Regions from separate parts of the Homo sapiens genome. Here region 2 is linked to region 1. Evidence: promoter capture Hi-C in 16 types of primary human blood cells and fetal thymus (Javierre and others, 2016). All regions are on one chromosome and are shown on one strand. Each heading gives the region's core, a stretch centred on a gene start or on the middle of the fragment in contact. The rest is flanking DNA. Distances are from core to core; before and after follow the strand shown. Region 1 holds the start of ATP5IF1 (ATP synthase inhibitory factor subunit 1). Region 2 holds the start of PHACTR4 (phosphatase and actin regulator 4).

Region 1 (3,745 bases), core at 847-3,346:
GCACTTATCACACTGTGCATTGTCTGTGGGTTCCTGGATGCAGGGACGCCTCTAATCCATTTTAGCAGTCCATTGGTGTCTGTCTATCTCTTCCAGATAGAAGAAGGCATCAAACACAGTTCACTGATGACAATTTATTATAATCTGTTAGTAGCACACAGACAAATATTAGTTAAACCAGAACCATGTCTACACAGAAGTGGGCAATGACATGTGCCATTCTATGGCACACGGTGTGCACTTAATCATCATGTTTTAGCATTTTGATCTTCTGCTTATGGCGCTCAATTTCTTTCTGCAGACGCTCAATCTCCTTCTTATGATGAACGATTTCTTCTTCATGGTGTTTTTTCAAAGCTGCCAGTTGTTCTCTACTCTGTGCTCTACAAGGACACGGTGGCTCAGGGTTTAATTTCAATCCTTCACCCCAAAGAGATCTCAAAGCATAACCTGTAATGTCTAAGCAAGGAATAGGAGTTCCAATTCCATGGGAGTCTAGCTGGTCATCCTCTTCTACTCCTCAACTAGTGAAAGAATACCCCATCTTAAATTGAGGTGTAGCCATCTTAAGAAGACCAAAGAGCTTATTGCTTTCAGATTCCTCTTTAAAATAGAAAACTCCAGAGAGATGTGACACAAGTCCCTAATACCTTATGAGGGGAACAACCCAGGGAACTTGACTCCCCTTTAGGGAAAAAAAAAGGAACAAAATGAGGAAGACAGACAAAGGGGTGTAGCTAAAAGGCAAATATCCATTTCCTATTCCAATCTGTCTAGAGCTTTCTTTGCCTATAGAAATGAATGGCCCACTGTAAGGCCAATAAAGGGTCTCTTGCATGCGCAGTACTTGGCAGTTCAATTTAGGTTCCAAGAAGGGACTGGATTACAATGTTGGTTTGGTCACATTTAGGCCTCAGTTTTCCTTAACTACAAAATGTAGGGGCTCAATTAGATAGTCTCTAACGGCTGTACCTTGGCTCTCTATACGGTATGGCAGGTGTCATGGTGATAATTCTCAACAGAAGGCAGAAGTGAAAGGCCAAAGGACAAGCAAAAGCAAGATTAATTCCTCACTGCTCTCCAGAGTGGACAGAAGTCAGTTAAAGATAACTCAAGGCTGGCAAAGGGAGGCCCAGCCCACTCCATACTCCTAAGCAGGAGAGGGAAATCTACAGGTCTAGGTTGGGCTGAGTAGGGCAAAAGCCTTTAGAAGATGGTGTCCAACCATAAGTAGCTCCCATGACCAGCTCCCATCATCCTCACTCTTGCGGAGTCGGGGGTCTAGAAACACCTGAGAAGCCTGAATGCATGCAGGCTTGCAAAGCTAAGGCGTGCTGGCGAGGAAGGAGAGCGTAGAGGGGGTGACAGGTGGGTAAGGGCCGAGGGAGTCAGGCTGGGAGGCAAACGTTGGGCGGTCGGATCTAGACACTGTGCGAAGAATCTGGGGGTGTTTCGCACGACCTGAGGAGAACTCCACGCGGGAGATGGTAATGATAAAGGAGGAGTTGAGCCGTGGGTTGTTTTGGAGACCCGCCGGTGGAAACGGTTTGGGGGCCTGAAACTGTTGTGCAGGTAACTGGGAGTGCCCTATACGTGGCAACGGTCGGGACATCAAGGGTTAGGGTATACTGGATTGGGGCCCGGGAGTTCTGTTGGGGGATGGGGCGCCCAAGGCACCAGGTAGGAACGGGTGGGGCGATTGGCAGTTTAAGGATTGGAAGGCCATTGGGAGATCCAGGGCTGGACTTGGGACCCGGTGAGCCTCACCGGAAATATCGTTCCTCTTCAGCCTGCTCTCTCTTTCCGAAGGCCCCACCGGCTTCCCGGATGGAGCCCGCGCCCCGGTCGACATTCTCGGACTGCAGAGAGACAGGGACACTGGTAAAGGTACGGAAGCAAAGATGGGATCCGCCCGCGGGGCTGGAGCAGCGGACACTGCCGCAGCGTACCTGATCCGAGCCGAAGCCTCGGGCTTGCATGGTCCTCACGCCCCACACGCCAAGCCACGTCCGCGCCGCCAACGCCGTCACTGCCATTGCTGCTGGAGCTGCACCTCTGGCGTCTCTGCCGCAGCAAGCAGTCTCTCGTTACGCGCTAATGGCAGGGACGGCCAAGCACCCAATCTGGTCGACGGAGGGGCGGATGAACACAGGAGTAGCGAATCACGGGAGAGCGGAGGCGGGCTTCCCGGAGCTCACAGCGAATCCCGAGCAAGAGACGGGTTTCTTCTTAGCCAACCGCTAGCAAGGGCTTAGGGCCAAAGGACTGGAAAGAGGAATGATGGAGGAGTTTAGAGAGCTGAGTGAGGAGAGTGCCAGAAGCCGAAATTTCGGCTCTTGGACCCATCAGAATGAGGCGTGGCGTCCACCTCCAGCCCACGATTTCAATTCTAAAGTCGTTATTATTCAAAGCCCAAAGGAAGTTTTCCCTTCCCTGGCCTGCTAGCATCAATAAAATGGGGGAATTCGGGGTTTGGGAGCTGTGTCCAGGATGCTGATGTCCAGGATACCGACGTCCAATGTGCCCTGGCTTAGATATACATAAATCGCGTTCATTTGTTATGAGAAGTGTCAGTGTTCTGGCTGGGCGCGGTGGCTCACGCCTGTAATCCCAACACTTTGGGAGGCCGAAGTGGGTGGATCACCTGAGGTCCGGAGTTCGAGACCAGCCTGGCCAACATGGGGAAACCCCGTCTCTACTAAAAATACAAAAATCAGCCGGGTGCGGTGGCACGCGACTGTAATCGCAGCTACTCAGGAGGCTGAGACAGGAGAATTGGCTTGAACCCGGGAGGCGGAGGTTGCAGTGAGCCGAGATTGCGCAACTGCACTCCAGCCTGGTGACAAAGCGAGACTCCGTCTCAAAACAAAAAAAAAAAAAAGAAAACCCAAATTATAACTTGACCACCTCAGGCACAGTTTCCTAGGACCTCTTGAGGCTGTGTTTCCCCAAGCTATGGTCACTCATCTTGGCTCAGAATAAACCTTTTAAAAATATTTTAGTTTGTTTTTTTCGTTAGCAACATATTGTTGAATGGGCTTAATAACTGCACTTTTGGCAATGTGGTGCAATGCAGTAGAAAAGAGCAGGCCAGGCGCGGTGGCTCACACCTGTAATCCCAGCACTTTGGGAGGCCGAGGCGGGCAGATCACCTGAGGTTGGGAATTCGAGACCAGCTTGACCAACATGGAGAAACCCCATCTCTACTAAAAAAAAAATATGAAAAATTAGCTGGGCATGGTGGCGCATATCTGTAATCCCAGCTACTCGGGAGGCTGAGGCAGGAGAATCGCTTGAACCTGAGAGGCAGGGGGTGCAGTGAGCTGAGATCACGCCATTGCACTCCAGCCTGGTCAACAAGAGAGAAACTGTCTCAAAAATAAATAAATAAAAATAAAAAATAAATTAGCTAGGCGTGGTGGCACATGCCTGTAATCCCAGCTACTTGGGAGGCTGAGGCAGGAGAATGCTTGAACCCGGGAGGCTGAGGTTGCGGTGAGCTGAGATCACGCCATTGCACTGCGGCCTGGGTAACAAGAGCGAAACTCTGTCTCAAAAAAAAAAAAAAAAAAAAAAAAAAAGGATAAGTAGGAGTCTAGGGAAAGCTTGACCTTAACCTCCCTTCATCCATCTAATGAATGTGAACAAGACAACAGTAGTCTTTACTCTCATGAAGTTTATAGCTCTTCTCTAACTCATTTTCTCTTCTCTGTTTCTTCTTTTTTAGATGAGAGAATTGGGCCAG
Region 2 (3,745 bases), core at 413-2,912, 130 kb before region 1:
AATCGCTTCAACCTGGGAAGTGGAGGTTGCAGTGAGCCAAGATCGTGCCATTGCATTCCAGCCTGGGTAACAAAGTGAGATTGTCTCAAAATAAATAAATAAATATAAATAAATTAAATTAAATAGTCGGGCACAGTGGCTCATGCCTCTAGTCCCAGGCATCTGGGAGCCTCTGGTGGAAGGATGGCTTAAGCCAAGAAGTTCGAGGCTACAGTGAACTAGGAGCTCTCCACTGTACTCAAGCTTCAGCAACCAAGCTAGACTCTTGTCTCTTAAATGAAACAAACAAACAAATTTTACCTTAAGCTGATTCTAGCAATGCAGTCTTCCAACAGGAGGACATACACAGTTACCATTATCTAGCCAAATTTGATCGAATCCACAATCCACGCAGTTCCGCGGTTTCCGGTAAGAATCTACCACACCTCATCCCCTAAACTGGCTTCATTTCTAAACGGGCTTCATTCCTTTTTTTTTTAAGATGGGGTCTTGCTGTGTTGCCCAGGCTGGTCGCGAACTTCTGGCCTCAAGCGATTCTCCTGCCTCAGCCTCCAGAATAGTTGGCATTACAGGCGCGCGCCACCACGCCCGAAATTCATTTCTTTAATTTGGCGAAAAAGTAAGTGACTTCTAGAAGCCACTGGGTTTCTGGTTCCTCTATAAAGCAAATTCTTCCACTGAAGGACTTTTTCCTTCCACTGTTTGTTTTAAAAAGAACAAGAAAAGGAAGAGGTTGGAAGGAGCGAGGAGCTGAGTGTCCGAATGAAGCACTGGAGGGTTTTTTTTTTTTGCAAGCAATCAGTGATGCCCTGTAAGTCACTCTCCTCCGAGATTTGGGAGGTGCGTGAACTGCCATTCTACCATTCACCACTGGTTCTTTGGTCCACCGATCACAGATGTGAGCTGCACAGACATCGCAGCAAATTCGATGCCTTCCCGGTTTCCCGGAGCCGGGGTGTAGAGGGTGGGAGAGAGGGGTCGCTTCTTTTCCTTAATCTCATCTCTCCACCAAGAAAAACGTCGGGAGTTTCGTGCCCTGAAGCCGCCCAGGCTGATGTTTGAAAGTTAAATAATAACCTCCAGGTTTTTACAGAAACTCCGCCTGGCTCCGAAGCCCCCGTTCTGCCCAGCAGGGGTGCAGAGGTCTGAGGCAGGACGGTTTTGAAAAATGTACTTTGACCCGATCCGGTTACTGTAACCGGATCCCCAGGGAGCAGTCCCTGTTGGGGACCGGGGGAACAGGCTCCCCCGTGGCGGAGACTCCATGCACGGACACAAAGGGGGAGCAACGCAGCCCAGACAAAAGGGCCCAGCCAAGTCTCGGGGGGCGGAGAGGGCGAGCCTGCGCGGGCCCTGCCTCAGGCGGAGAAGCCCGGGTTGGACCGTTGTGGGAGGGCCGAGGAGGGAGGCGGCGGCCCCGCCCCGCCCTGGCCCGAAGCGACGGCGACCCGGGCCGTTACCTTCTGCCCGGACCGGGACCCTCTCGCAGAGCCAAGAAAGGGGCCGCAGCCTGAGAGGAGGCCGCAGCCTGATACTGAGCGCGTCCTGCTCACTTTCCCTTGCTCGCTGAACTTACCCAGATCTCCGCCGCCGCCTCCTCAGCCTCCACAGCAGCCTCTCCCGGAAATCCTACCTGGCCCGTTGGCCGCCAGGCAGCAGCCGGAGCCCTTGGCCCCCGGGGAGGGGGAAAAAGGGAGCCGGCTGGACAGTGTAGGGTAGGACGTGCCGCCGCGGAGGCTTACGGGACTTGTAGTCCCCAGCAGGGGCCGGTTGCCCGGCAAGCTGAACAAAATGGCGGGAAGCGTGCGTCCTTTCTCTCCGGGCGGTCGTCCTCCTTACGACCTCTCTGGGCATGCGCTGGCCGCTCTGCGCACCTTGTGTGTAAAAGAACTTGGGCACCTTTCCTGGTACTATGGGAGGCAAAGGTCTTTGGGCTTGGGAGGACAGGGTTCAATACTGGGCTCCAGGCAGTACCCAAAAAGGGAACTGATACAAGAGTGTTGTTTGAGAAAACTGTATCCCTGACTGGCCAAATTTCAATCATAACCTCCCCAAAGGAAAAACTATTTATTGAGGACCAATTTGAAGTGCAAAAAACGTACAAGCAAGTTATCTACCCTCAGTGTTGTGCGTAAGAAACCCAGGAATCATTCTGGACACTTCCCTCAAGCCATTAAGTCCAGTCATTCTACATCCCCAGTATTTTAATTCATTTCGATATCCTTCACTACTATCACCTAGTGAAAGCCACCATCACTTCTCTCCAAGTCTCAGTAGTTTCAGGCCCTAGGCTATCACCCTCCGAAAACCTTCCTTGCTGCTGCCAGAGGACCCTTCTAAATGCAAACCCATTGTATCACACAACCTAAATTAGACCTACATGTAAAACTTGAAGCTACGGCACATCTAGAGGACATTCCAGGAGAAAAATCGATGTGACTTTTCAAATACACTATCCATAAAATTAAAAAAATTGGCCAGGCGCGGTGGCGCATGCCTGTAATCCCAGCTACTCAGGAGGCTGAGGCAGGAGAATCGCTTGAACCCAGGAGGCGGAGGTTGCAGTGAGCCGAGATCTTGCCATTGCAGTCCAGCCTGGGCGACAGAGCAAGACTCCGTCGCAAAACAAACAAACAAACAAACAAACAAATTATCCGGGGCCTAGTGCCAAGCTCCTGTAGTCCCAGCTACGTGGGAGGCTGAGGTGAGATGATCACTTGAGCCTGGGGGGTCGAGATCGCACCAGTGCACTCCAGCCTGGGCAGCAGAGCAAGACCCTGTCTCAATAGAAAAAGAAAAAAGAAGAAAAAAAAATTGGCCGGGTGCAGTGGCTCACACCTCTCATCCCAGCACTTTGGGAGGCTAAGGCGGGAGGATCCCTTGAGCCCTGGAGTTTGAGACCAGCCTGCCAGCCTGGGCAACAGAGTGAGGCCCCATCTCTACAAAAACAATTTTAAAAATTAGCTGGGCATGATGGAACGTGCCTGTAGTCCCAGGTACTCAGGAGGCTGAAATAGGAGGATTATTTGAGCTGGGGAGGTCCAGGCTGCAATGAGCTGTGATGGTGTCGCTACACTCCAGCCTGGACGACAGAGGGAGACCTTGTCTCAAAAAAATATTTAAAATATATTTATTGGCCTGGCACGGTGGCTCACGCCTGTAATCCCAGCACTTTGTGAGGTTGAGGCTGGTAGATCACCTGAGGTCAGGAGTTCGAGACCAGCCTCTCCAAAATGGTGAAACCACATCTCTACTAAAAATACAAAAATTGGCCGGGCACGGTGGCTCACACTTGTAATCCCAGCACTTTGGGAGGCTGAGGCGGGCGGGTCACGAGGTCAGGATATCGAGACCATCCTGGCTAACGCAATGAAACCCTGTCTCTACTAAAAATACAAAAAATTAGCCGGGCGTGGTGGAGGGCGCGTGTAGTCCCAGCAACTCGGGAGGCTGAGGCAGGAGAATGGCGTGAACCCGGGAGGCAGAGCTTGCAGTGATCTGAGATCGCGCCACTGCACTCCAGCCTGGGCAACAGAGCGAGATCCCGTCTTAAAAAAAAAAAATACAAAAATTTATTGGGCGTGATGGCCCACCCCTGTAATCCCAGCTACTCAGGAGGGTGAGGCAGGAGAAGCGCTTGAACCCAGGAGGCGGAGGTTTCAGGGAGCCGAGATCGCACCATTGCACTCCAGCCTGGGTTACAAGAGGGAAACTCAGTCTCAAAAATAAAATTAAAAAATATATT

Evidence for each region. The method cuts DNA at HindIII sites, captures the fragments that hold promoters and counts their contacts. A CHiCAGO score of 5 or more calls a contact.
Region 2: a contact is called between the fragment with the promoter of PHACTR4 here and the fragment with the promoter of ATP5IF1 in region 1, in 1 of 17 cell types (M1 macrophages). The highest score is 5.2, in M1 macrophages.

The regions. Positions count from the first base shown.
Region 1 is chr1:28,234,475-28,238,219 of GRCh38, reverse strand. ATP5IF1 (ATP synthase inhibitory factor subunit 1) reads right to left here and starts at 2,096. Exons shown (of 3, transcript NM_016311.5): 1 at 1,950-2,096; 2 at 1,768-1,859; 3 at 120-383. The coding sequence starts at 2,036. The coding sequence ends at 242. RefSeq lists enhancers at 1,838-1,897, 2,691-3,197 and a silencer at 2,634-2,858. The HindIII fragment of the contact is 3,687 bases long and covers 1-3,607 here.
Region 2 is chr1:28,367,657-28,371,401 of GRCh38, reverse strand. PHACTR4 (phosphatase and actin regulator 4) reads right to left here and starts at 1,662. Exons shown (of 14, transcript NM_001048183.3): 1 at 1,577-1,662. RefSeq lists a silencer at 1,289-1,508 and enhancers at 1,590-1,884, 1,535-2,490. The HindIII fragment of the contact is 7,867 bases long and covers 246-3,745 here.